Regions from separate parts of the Homo sapiens genome. Here region 2 is linked to region 1. The links are contacts of gene promoters, found by promoter capture Hi-C in blood cells and fetal thymus (Javierre and others, 2016). All regions are on one chromosome and are shown on one strand. Each heading gives the region's core, a stretch centred on a gene start or on the middle of the fragment in contact. The rest is flanking DNA. Distances are from core to core; before and after follow the strand shown. Region 1 holds the start of SPRR1A (small proline rich protein 1A). Region 2 has its middle 15 kb from the start of LINC00302.

Region 1 (6,474 bases), core at 1-2,500:
TGCATGGTTCCTGGGGTGGAGGCTGGCAAGGTTGTTTCACCTGCTGCTGCTGAGGCTGAGGGGGTGGGGTGCAAGGCTGCTTCTGCTGCTGAGAATTCATGCTTCAAATGTGTTTTTTTCTAGAGACAGAAAGCTGACACAGTGATTCAATTAAAGAAAGATGGATACAAATTCAATGCCAAACAGATTTTATTTCAGGACCCTTTAGAAGAGAAAGCCTTTCATCTCCCTTAACTCCCCCATTACATTTAAAAATGAAATAAGCTTGGATAATTTTCAGGCCCTTTGAAGAGGAGGAGCTAAAAGGCAATTTCTTCTGCTCCATTTTATTGGAGTTCTCTTCTTGGCTCCCTTCCTACCCAAGGCAACTTATATCTGTTCTGGAAAAATGCCCTACTAAAGCTGGCTTCTGAGGGACATGAGGTCCGCATATTAGGTCTTTTGGAAAATGGCATCAGACCACTTTCCTCTCCTAGTACCATGTAGAAAGCCTGTGACTTATAGGATGGCTTTATATTCATCTAAGCCTCTATGGTTTTGCTTCTGGTCTGTGCTTACACAGTCCCTTCCAAATGCTTTTCTTCCCATCTCTGCTTGTCCAAATACCCCTCCATCATAGCTCACATCACTTGACACCCCTAGGAGGGTCTCCTTGAGCAAGGTCTCCCAAAAGTGCACAGCCCTTCTCTGCCCATCTCCGTCATGCCAATTACTATCTACTTTGCATTTCATTTATTTATATATATGTATTACCTTCCTGCTAGGTTTTATGTTTGTTAAGTAAGTACGTTAGGCATTGATTTGTCCAAAGTGCCTAGCATACTGCCTTAAATGGAATAAATGCTCAGTAGAGATCCATCTAATAAATTAAAATTTCTATAAATATCTTGTCAGGGGGAAATTGCAGTGTTACTGAGAGTGCTCTGGGCCTGAGTTCTAGTTCTGCTATGAACTTCCCATGGGCATTTGAACAATCTTCTCCAGGACTCCCAGTTCAATGACTATCTACTGAGGTGGGAGCCCTAACCATCTCTAAGGTCCTTTCAAATCCAGACTGTAATTTAACTTAAAATAAAGATATTCCACTATTCTCTATCTCCCATTGAAACCCTGGATTAACCTGCTTACACATATTTGCCTTTAGCTAATTTCTAATAATGAAAAAGTACACTAGAATTGCCAGTTTGTTGCAATCAGAGACTTACCTGGTATACGGAGCAGAATGGGCTGTGTGGTCCCTTGGGTTTGGTGTGAAGGCAATGGCCAGCTGGCTTTTATAAGATGAATGAGCCCTGCCTCAAGGAAATAGAAGCTCTCGGGCACTCTGTTTTCATTCCTCACCTGTCACACATGACTCACACTACCATCCTCATCACCGGTTGGCTCAGCTTTTTTGATGAACACCACCTGATATTTTTTGGCACTGGCTGGCTGAAAATGATGTCACTGGCCTAATTTTCACTGCCACCCTCATCCTCAGACCCAGGTGCAGGGCTTGCCTTGAGGGAGGGGTGAGCAGCAGGCTTCATGGAGGGTTTCATGAGTTAACCCTGGGGGGACATCTGAGTCCTGTTGAGGCCTTGCCACCTGCTGTCCTTGTCATTGAGATGGTTGTTCCCCGTGTTCTGTGGGACAGGGCACTCTTGCACACATGAATAGGTGGGAAAGGGAGGGGGAGCAGAGGAGCTGAGGTGGGCCCTCCTTGTCTGCCTTGGTGAAGGTGGAAGCTAGAAATAATGAAATGGACTGATTATAGACCCCTTGTCTCAGAGTCCAAGACCCTTCCATCCATTTCCCCCATCTTTTTCCCAATTCCATTAAACTACACACATTCAGAATAATTTACTTATGACTCTCCCACTCTCACCTTCCTCCCCCTGACTGGTTGCTAATCTGGGAAAACCTGCTTTCCTTCACCAACCACACCTTTACCCTTCTCCTACTTCAGGGACTTTCAGGGGCTAATCCTTCTTCTGGGATCACTTTTTCCCTTCACTCCACCCAGACATCTGGCCCTGGCCTTTTCCTCCTTTCTGATCAGGCTAGACTGCCCCCCACCTGAAAACCCAAAAGCCTTTTCTACCTGCCTCCCTGCAGCCCATCCATGGGGTCCTCAATGCTGAATCCTTCTCCACTTTTGCCCACTGCCAGCTCCAGCCCCAATACCTAGAGATCCTGCTGGCTGCAAGGTTTTCCTCCTCCTTCTGGGTCTGTATCTCCTGGGGGCTTTCCGAGGGTCAGAGCTGTTCCTGCTTAAAGCAACGGTGTCCCCACCACAGTGTTTATTTCCTCATTTATTCAACAAATCTCAGTGGGGAGCCTAACATATGCCCATCATGCCTGTCATTCTAGGAGCTCTCTGATGAGGAAGCCCACTTTTCCTCTACAGATCATGAACTCCCCAGGGTAAGAGACAGAGCACAGTTGAGAGCCACTGAGATTATGGATCTCAGAGAGCCTTTAGTTCACACTCCTCAAGGGATGATTGGGGAATCTGAGGCCACCAGAGGTGAAATAACTCACCAAGGTCAAAAAAACAAACCCTAGGAAGAAAAGAATTTTACACAGAAATCCTGTGTTCTCCTTTGTTTTAATTCCTTGTGACTCCCTAATGTCTATGGAGGAAATTAAGCCCAGGCAGAAAATTGATTAGAGGTGGAAAGGGGAGCCCTTCCTGACTGAGAGCTGGGTCACTTGTAGTTCTGGAAAGTTTTAGGAGTGACAGCGTGAGGACACAGAAAGAGCCTTGCCTTGTGGGTAAGCCTTAATCGGTGCTAAGATAAATCCCTTTAAGTAGAAATAAAGATGCTTAATATTTGAGTGGCTCTAAACAGTGGGTGTTTCTAGCTCTGCTAAAGTAAGAAGGGCATGAATTAGAATAGGTGGAAATAAGGTTCAGTTTATCATTACTCAGGGCACCAGGGTCGGAGAAAGGAAGGGAAAAGCCAAAACTAAAATGTCTGCTTCTATCCTGAGTTGCTTTCGCTCTAGGGGAGCTCTCAGAGTGACATCGTGACACAGCTGAGGTGAAGGCACTGGGGGAGGCAGTAGGTGATAAGCCCCTGAGCACCTGCACATGCTTGCCTTCACTCCACGATGGTCAGATTCTGCCCTGCCAAGGAACTTCTCTTTCCTGGGGACACAAGAACAGGGGTTCCCTCAATCTTTCCATAGGCAATTGCCATAAAACTGAGGTCTCTGATTCAGAGCTGCACTCAAAACACAAACTGTTACTAGGTGTGGCCTTTGGAAAATCCAAATCATCCTTAAAACTCAGGTGTTCAGATGGTTCCTCCTCCTCATCTAACCCCTCCTTTACCCAAACACACACCTAAATGTTTGTGGAGCACCTGCTGGCTCCACAGCCAGTGAACCTGAGGCCAAGGTCAGCCTCCCACTGTGTCCATGCAGCCATTGGTCCCTATCCATCTCCATCCTCACACAGTGCCTGGCGTGCAGAAGCTGCTTGGTGACTGGCATTTATAGACCGACTGCCTGGCTGGCTGGCTGGCTGGCTGACTGAATGAATGAATGACTGAATGGCGTTATTTGTAAAGACAGGCTGAGAGTCTACTTTGAAACCTGCCTAGAAGCTCCGGTACACAGTGTACCTGCTGCCCTCCCCACCCACCTGCCTCACTGTCAAACAGTTTAATGCCCCACCTTGCTCCGGGCTGGTGCCAGCCCCACCAGGACACCTGAGCTCCAAGACTCTTGCCTCACTTAGCTCTCCTCTAGGTTTGTGCCCAGGTCCCCTTCTTCACCAAGTCCCCACCCAGGAGCCCTGACAGCAGGGGCTGCTGGAACCTGTTGCTATGTCTGGTAGGATTCTCAGCCCTGCAGGAACCTGCTGCCTAGTTGTCTGTCCTCTGGTGTCACCCAGCTTGTCTCAGGCCCTGGATGATCTGAAGCCACCTCTGAAGCTGGTGTGTTCTCATGCCCTCCCTGGACCTTAGCCCTGGATGCAAAGGAATTTCCTTCTCCCTGGTTATCAGCTCCTTACTGGACAGTCCTGCGTGCCTCAACATGTGCTTCCTTCACCCCACCCAAGCCTGCTTGGGCTCCAGACTCTGGAACTTTCTCTTGGTCTCTGACATTCTTCTCTCTGTGTATTTGAAGCTTCCACAGTGACTTGTGTTAATCGTTAATCTTCCCTCAGAAGAAACTTTGTTTCTCTGCCACTGGGGTTGGGTTAGCTATTGAATCAGGCCCCACAAACTCCCACATAAAGACAAGGGGAAACTGGGTGGCTTCCGACAGTAAGAACAGCACCCCAGATTTCTCAGCCTTGCAGAAAAGCCCCACCTAGGACACAGGAGCTGCTGCTCTTCTGACATCGAAAACTGGCTCTCATTTGTCCCTGGAACTTCCATTGACTCTGAGCAGTGCCTCAGGTTCATCAGTCATTTCCAGAGCAAGGAAGATTGATGGCCCTAAGTCTAATCAGTGATCAGGCTTTTCCCAGCATAGATTACTCTCTCCCCCACACTTCCCTAAAGCCCAGACCCTGCAAAGAAGGTCATGCAGAATTTGAACTCCAGGCCTTTTCCTGTGGGGATTGCATATTTAAAGCATGGTAACATTTAGAAACATGCAGTATTAACAGGTTTACCCCCTCCCTTTCTCTGATCACCTTGAGAAGCTAGGGAGACCCCCAGAGTGTCAGCTGCTCAATTCAGGCCATGATAATTTTTAAAAAGTCTCTATAACACACAAGCTCTTCATCTGAGAAAGGGCAGGAAAAGGAGAAACACCAGATCCCAGGTGTTAGGAGCCTCCTGAACACTTTGGCCCAGCAGGGAGGAAAAGTTAAGTTTGCAAATGTGGGTGCAGAGGTGGAGGGAGGACATGAAATCATAGCACCAGAGAAACTCTACTCAGCCCCTCATCCAATAGAGAGGGAATGAACTGCTGTGGTGGGGGAAGGAACTCGCTCCAGGCTTCACAGCCTCTTTAGTGACAGAATCAGACCCAAACCTGGGATGCTCAATTCCCTTTCCTTTCTACCATCTCTTTAAGAACAGAGCATGCCCCTCACCCTCACTCTTTTTATTTCTGGTCCTTGAAGGGATGGATAAAAAATTAAACCTGGCTTCTCTTGCTTGAGGTATATAGAAATAAAAGCACCCAGGCTTAATGTCTTGCCCAGTTGTTTCAAAGCCTTGCTATGCCCTTATTAGTTGGATGACCTTGAGCAAGTTGCCTAACCTTTCTGCATGCTACTGTCCTTATCTTTAAAAGGAGAACTTTAAATTCTACTTCACAAAGTTGCTATAAAGATTAAACGCAATGATGCTTCTAACACTTTAAGATGAATGAGCTAAATACGTCTAGCGTAATAATTCTTGCTAGCTTGTCTCATTCTTTCCTCTCCTTCCACTTGAAATCAGTTGAAACTTTTTCCTTTTGACTGTGAGTTTCCTTTTTTCCTTCTCACTCTGTGTGTGTGTGTGTGTGTGTGTGTGTGTGTGTGAGAGAGAGAGAGAGAGAGAGAGAGAGAAAGAGAGAGAGAACAGGGAGAGAGCGCCCAAGGACAGGGCATACTTCTTCAATGGAGCAACATTCTTGGCCTTTGTGATTGCTTTATCTCCCCTCATTTTTTTACACTCGATTTCAGGTTTACATATTTACCAAATTATATCTTGAGCTATTGAACAGTGACAATGACTGCACAGTTCATGTTTTATAGGAGTTGGGGCATGGGAGGAGGCTAAAATTATTGGTGATTATACAAAAACCTGGACACACCTTAGATAAGGAAATTGAGGCAGAAAAACTTTGAGTGACTCTCCCAACATGTCATGAAGGTCTGATGTGCCAGGGTACAGTCCCTTGAGAACTTTGTTGTATTGCTTCTCAAGACTAGTGGAACACTCTATAAATCAGAGGGTGACTCTTAGAAGAGACACTGACTGGATCCCTATAGTCTCACACATCTGAGCTGATCGACTGCCTATCTTCCACCAGAAGTAGAGCTTCTCTGGGTATGGATGATCAAAAGACACAGACGTATTTTAAAATGAAAAGTATTGGAATCTGGGATGATTCAGACGGATGTGCTATCCCTCCTATCAATCATTGCCTCCTGGGCTGTAGAGGGGGGCAAAGGAACAAGTTCATGGCTAAAAATTTTCTGCAGAGAATCTAAACCCTGTGTAGTTGCCGGTCCCTTCTGTTTGCTCAGCTATGCCTGCTTTGTCCCTGGTCCACCTCTGAAAGCACCTTCTCCAGAGTGCAGAGTGATCTCCACAGATTACAGGTTTGGAAACATGAAGTCCTGGATTCAAATCCTGACTCTACTACTTACTAGCTATGTGTGTGATATCAGGAACGTTTTCTAATAATAAAAATAGCTACCATTTTATTAGCTTCTGCAGAGTGTCAGACCATGTTCTAGGTACTTGACACTAGTTCTTACAATAGCAGTGCAAGGACCAGGTCATTAAACGTAGTCTATAGATGTGGAAGCTGTAG
Region 2 (6,474 bases), core at 2,082-4,581, 340 kb after region 1:
TGAAATTAGGCCAGTTTATAACCCTACAATGGTCTCTAGGCATTCAAGTGAAGTGAAGAGTCACAAATCTCTCATTTTAAATAAAAGCTAGAAATAATTAAGCTGAATGAGAAAGGCATGTGGAAAGCCAAGCTATGCCTTTTGGTCCAGTTAGCTAAGTTGTGATTGCAAATGAAAAGTTCTTGTAGGAAATTAAAAGTGCTACTCCAGTGAACACAAAAGTGTAAGAAAGCAAAACCGCCTTATTGCTGATATTGTAAAAAAAAAATTAGTGGTCTAGATAATAGATCAAACCAGCCACAAGATTTCCTTAAGCCAAAACCTATTCCAGAGCAAAGCTCTAACTCTCTTCAATTCCATGAAGGCTGAGAAATGTGAGGAAGCTGCTGAAGAAAAGTTGGAAGCTAACAGAGGTTGGTTCATGATGTTTAAAGAAAGAAGCCATCTTCAAAACCTAAAGTGCAAGGTGAAGCAGCAAGGGCTGATGCAGAAACTGCAGCAAGTGATCCAGAAGATGTAGCTAAGATAATTGATAAAAGTGAATACACTAAGCAACAGATTTTTAATGTAGGTGAAACAGCCTTATATTGGAAGAAGATGCCATCTGGGACATTGATAGCTAGAGAGGAGAAATCAATGCCTGGCTTCAAAGTTTCAAAGAAAGGCTGATTCTTGTGGTAGGGACTAATGCAGCTATTGACATTAAGTCTAAGTCAATCATCATTTATAATTCCAAAAATCCTAGGGTCCTTAAGAATTATGCTAAATCTACTATGCCTGTGCTCTATAAAGTGGAACAACAAAGCCTGGATGGCAGCACATGTGTTTACAGCATGGTTTACTGAATATTTTAAACCCACTTTTGAGGCCTACTGCTCAGAACAAAGGATAACTTTCAAAATATTACTGTTCATTCACAATGCACCTATTCAGCAAAGAGCTCTGATAGAGATGTACAAGATTAATCTTGTTTTCATGCCTGCTAAGACAACATCTGTTATGAAGTCCATGAATCAAGAAGTAATTTGTTTTTTTGTTTTTTTTTGTTTGTTTTTGTTTTTGTTTTTTTCTTGAGACAGAGACTCGCACTGTTGCCCAGGCTGGAGTGCAGTGGTGCGATCTTGGCTCACTGCAAGCTCCACCTCCTGGGCTCACGCCATTCTCCTGCCTCAGCCTCCTGAGTAGCTGGGACTACAGGCGCCCGCCACCATGCCTAGCTAATTTTTTGTTCTTTTAGTAGAGATGGGGTTTCACCATGTTAGCCAGGATGGTCTCAATCTCCTGACCTGATCTGCCCACCTCGGCCTCCCAAAGTGCTGGGATTACAGGCGTGAGCCACCAAGCCTGGCCATAATTTCAGTTTTTAAGCATCATTATTATATAAGAAAAACATTTTGTAAGGCTATAGCTACCATAGACAGTGATTCCTCTGATGTGTCTGAGCTAAATCAATTGAAAACCTTCTAGAAAGGATGCCCCATTCTAGATACCATTAAGAAAATTCATGATTCATAGGACAATGTCAAAATATCAACATAAACAAGAGTTTGGAAGAAGTTGATTCCAACCCTCATGGATGACTTTGAGGGATTCAAGACTTCAGCGGAGAAAGTAACTGTATATGTGATGGACATAGGAAGAGAAATACAAGTGGAGTCAGAAGATGGGACTGAATTGCTGCAATCTTATGACAAAATTTGAATGGATGTGGAGCTGCTTCTTATGGATGAACAAAGAAAGTGGTTTCTTGACATGGAATCTACTCCTGTGAAGATACTGTGATCATTATTGAATGACAACAAAGGATTTAAAATATTACATGAACTTTGTGATAAAGCAGCGGCAAGGTTTGAGAGGATTGACTCAAATTTTGAAAGCAGTTCCACTGTAAGTAAAATGTTATCAAACAGCATCACATGCTACAGAGAAATCTTTTGTGAAAGGAAGTGTCAATCAATGCAGCAAATGTCATTGTTGTCTTATTTCAGAAAATTGTCACAACTACCCCACCTTCGGCAGCCACCACCCTGATCAATCAGTGACCATCAAGACAAGACCCTGCATCCGCAAAAATATTATAACTCAATGAAGGCTCACATTATGGTGTATTTTTAATTAAGATATCCTCATTATTTCTTAAATTTAATGCTATTGCACACTTAATAGACTGTAGTATAGTGTGAACATAACTTTCACATGCACCGAGAAGACAAAAAATTCGTTTGACTTGGTTTATTGCAATATTTGCTTTATTGCAGTGGTCTGGAACTGAACTCACAGTATCTTCGAAATATGCCTGTAGAGTAAATCCAGTTAACTGTAGAATTTTATTTTGCAAGCTGGTGAAACATCCTTTTGTTTAAACCTTCTCCTATTACAGAGCTCAATCTCTCTTCTCAATCTGTGTTGAATATATATTTGCACAATACCAGATTGAAATTACCCGTAAAATGAGTTTGTCCAGATGCCTATGTGTCTCTGTCTAGTCTGGCCGATTACCTGGTGGTTAAGAGCATAGACTCTGAACCAAACTTCTGGGGTTTGAATTCCAGTCCTGCCACTTAGTAGCTGTGTGAACCTCTCTGAGCCTGAGATTACTAAAATGATAATAATAATGTCTTCCTTGAAGAGCTGTTGTGAGTTAAACAGGTTAATATATGTAACATGCTAACAGCAGAGACTGTCCTAAAATGAAGCCTGTATTTGTCGTTGTTGCTGCTGGTGTTTTGCTGTGAAAAGTGAGTCTGGGTTGCCAGAAAGTCTAGACTAGGAAGCTGAACCAATGTCTCATTTCCATTTGGACTTACTCAACAATCATACCCACCACAGGAGGCCACAGCTGAAGGCCATCACCCTTGTTGCTTTTCTTGCTTGCCAGGGGCCAAGAACAGGTGAGAGCTGAGAATACATTTTTAGAACACCCACAGCCCTCAAGATCTAACCAGAATATCTGTTTTCTTTCCAAGCTTAATCCTCTGGCCATGATAGGGCCTATGACTCAGGAAAATGTTGGGGAAATAGCTCAAGTACCAACAGGGAAATAAAGACAACTTTCCCTAGTGTCAAACTGAGAAGAGTCTATGTAGAGAAAATTCCAGACCCAGATTGGGCTGAGATTCGATAACAGAGTGGCTCTGCATGTTATACAGCTATCTGCTCCTCCCTATGCCACTGCACATGCCACAGACTGGCCTTTGCCTATCTCCTGTACTAGAAAAATAACTGGTTGGGTGGCCATTCTGCCTATAGCTTACCCCAACCAAAAAGAAAAAAAAAAAACCTTCCATACTGCAACAGTAACCATTTAGGATTCTTTTTCAATCAACTTTAAAATTGTAAAAATAGTTTGGAAACTATGGGGATATAGAAAGAATAGATTAATAATCATCCCCACATATCCTGCCACCCAGATAGTACTATTGACACCCCTGCTTATTGGTACCAGAGCACACCTTTCATCCTACTGCCTTCAGGCACAAACTCATGCTATCTTTGGGCCTTGAAAACCTTCCTCCCTTTTAATTTTAATTAAATAAAAATTTACTGCCTCCAATTAGTCAAAGCTCATTGAGGGCAGAAATCAAGACCTATTAAACTGTCTCTGTCACCCAGCTCTAGCACAGACCTGAGTACAGAGCCAAGGAGAAGATATGCTGATTGGTCAACTGGTTGCCATGAATCCCTTCAAAAGCTTCTCTCCAGTAACATACAGTGGACCCATATATGGAAGACGCTCATACTAATTGTTAGTGTTTTGCTGTTGGGGCAAAAAAAATAGAAAGATATAAAGGAATGTGGACATTTCTATGGTTAAGAATGCCAATTAAACACTCTAACCCCACAACCACATCATAAGATGTCACCTAGACATGGGGTTTTTGTCAGTATCATCACCTTTGTCATGTTAAATATCATCAACGTAAGGGGGAAGCTCTTTAAATAGTAAATATATTTCTAAAATTTTTTTGGGGGGGAGGCACAACAAAAGCTCATCCATTTATTCATTGACCAGTTATTTATTGAGTGCCAAATTTATGCCAGAAACTATTAAGTGATTTCTTAGTCTATTTTCTGCTGCCATGACAGAGTACCAAACACTAGTTAATTTTTTTTATGTCTCACTTGTAAGTGGGAGCTAAACAATGAGAACACACGGATGCAAAGAGGGCAACAACAGACACCAGAGCCTACTTGAGGATGGAGACTGGGAGAAGAGAGAGAATCAAAAAAAGTACCTCTCAGCTACTATACTTATCACCTGGGTGACTAAATAATCTGTACACCAAACCCCCACAACATGCAATTTGGCTATATAACAATCCTGCACATGTACTCCTAAACCTAAAATAAAAGTTAGGAAAAAAAAGACTGGATAATTTAAACACAATAGTTTATTTGGCTTACAGTTCTGGAGGCTGGGAAGTCCAAGAGCATGGTGCTAGTATCTGGTAAGGGTTATTCTGTGGCAGAAGGCAGAAGGCAGAAGGCCAAGTGAATATATGAGACAGAGAGAAAATGGGGACTGAATTTATTCCTTTATCAGGAACCCACTCCTGCAACAACTAGCCCACTCCCATGACAACAGCACTAATCCACTCATGATGGTGGAGCCCTCATGGCCCAATCACCTCTGAAAGGCCCAAATTTTCAACACTGTTACAATGGCAACCAAATTGCAACATGAGTGTTGGAGGGGACATTTAAACTATAGCAGAAAAACAAAACAATTTTAGTCTCTATCCTCATGGAGGTAATAAACTCATGGCTAAAGCAGCCAATTATGCAAGAAATTACTACAAAATGTGGACTGTGGGAGTATATAGTAAGATAACCCAAGATAGTCTATGTAGGACTGAAGGGAGCTGGTTAATAAGAGTACCTTCTCAATGATAACAGCCTACACCACCTCTCTGCTGCCCAAGACCCATCACAGACACGAGGCAGACTTTCACTGCCATTGAGACAAACACTAAGAATGGGTAACATGATGACACAAATGATGCCAAGGACTTCCAAGAATACAGAGCAATAACTCTCATACAGACTTTTTAAAAAATTACTTGGTAGTATCTAGTAAAACTGAGCATATGCACAACTTGTGACCTATTCCCCAAATATAATCCTCCAAAATCCACACGTATATGTACCGAAGGCATATATAAGAATGGTCATGGCAGAACTACTTGTAACAAACAAAAAACTGAAACCTAACCAAATGTCCTTTAATCAGAGAATTAAGTGTGGAATGCTTACCCAATTAAATACTATATCACTATGAAAATTGACAAACTATAACTTCACACAATACTATGGATGAGTCTCATAAACATAATGCTGAGCAAAGAAACCAGATGCAAAAGAGCACTTAGCATATGGTTTCATTTCTATAAAGTTTGAAAACAAGCAAAATTAATCCATACTGTTAAAAATCAGGATAACAGTTACCTTTGGTGTGGATGGGAATAACGGTAACTCGAAAGGGGAGTAAGGAGAGCTTCTAAGATGCTGGTAATCATTTCTCTGTTGATCTGGGTGTTGTTATGTAAGTGTGTTACCTTTTTGAAAAAGCATCAGGCTGTATACAATGATTGTGTGCTTTGCTTTATGCATGTAATACTTCAATTAAGTTATCTTTTAAAACTCAGGAATTTCTCTCCCAGCAATAGCCAACTATGTTGTTTTAGCTTCCCAATAAGAACAGCTAAAATATGTGGACAATATGTTTCTAAACTCCTTTGAAGACCGAGAAGAGGGACTAAGGTAGATTTCTGGATTTAGCAAATAAAAATACAAGACACCCAATTAAATGTAAATTTCAGATAAACAATAACTTTTTAGTATAAATCTCCAATACTACATAGTATATACTTACACTAAAAATGTATTCGCTGGTTATCCATTGTTTAAATTTAACTGGCCATCTTATATTTTATCTTGCAAGCCTATTCCAAGGCAGTGAAAACAGATGATGTCAAGACGTGGAAACAGAGGGTCTTCAAGCAGGGTGGGTCAGATATTTGGGACATGTATTCCCTGCAGCCATTTGTGAATGCTGAAAGTGAAAGTGGTGGCTAAGAAGCTGAGAGGCCAAATCAAGATTTTAGCATCTCACCAGGAAGGAGTTCAGAGCTTGACAAGAAGGAGTGCAAGAAACACCAGGCCTCAGGTGGATCCCCAAGCACTAATAGTAGAAGAAGTTTGTGCATGGGATGCCTAATCATTCTTGGAACTGTGGTTTGATATCTTTTGTCAGTATGTCAAAATTCAGAGTGATTATTTCTTCATGTACTGCTTATTTCTGTTCTCTCTCTTCTTCTGGGATTCCAAGTATTATTATCTAGATATTAGAACTTTTCACTATAGTCCATATATATTTTGTATTTTTTTTTTATTTTCTGGTTGTTTGTCTTCCCTTGCTTCAATATTTTCTTCTGTCCAATCTAACAGTTGCTAATTATCTCTTCTGTTGTGCTG

Evidence for each region. The method cuts DNA at HindIII sites, captures the fragments that hold promoters and counts their contacts. A CHiCAGO score of 5 or more calls a contact.
Region 2: a fragment that was not itself captured here is called in contact with the fragment with the promoter of SPRR1A in region 1 in 1 of 17 cell types (naive CD8 T cells); the score reaches 5.6 in naive CD8 T cells.

The regions. Positions count from the first base shown.
Region 1 is chr1:152,978,857-152,985,330 of GRCh38, reverse strand. SPRR1A (small proline rich protein 1A) reads right to left here and starts at 1,250. Exons shown (of 2, transcript NM_005987.4): 1 at 1,206-1,250; 2 at 1-119. The coding sequence starts at 100. The HindIII fragment of the contact is 3,855 bases long and covers 267-4,121 here.
Region 2 is chr1:152,636,980-152,643,453 of GRCh38, reverse strand. No RefSeq gene overlaps it. Among named protein-coding and RNA genes, the nearest start is that of LINC00302, 15 kb to the left of the region's middle. The HindIII fragment of the contact is 725 bases long and covers 2,969-3,693 here.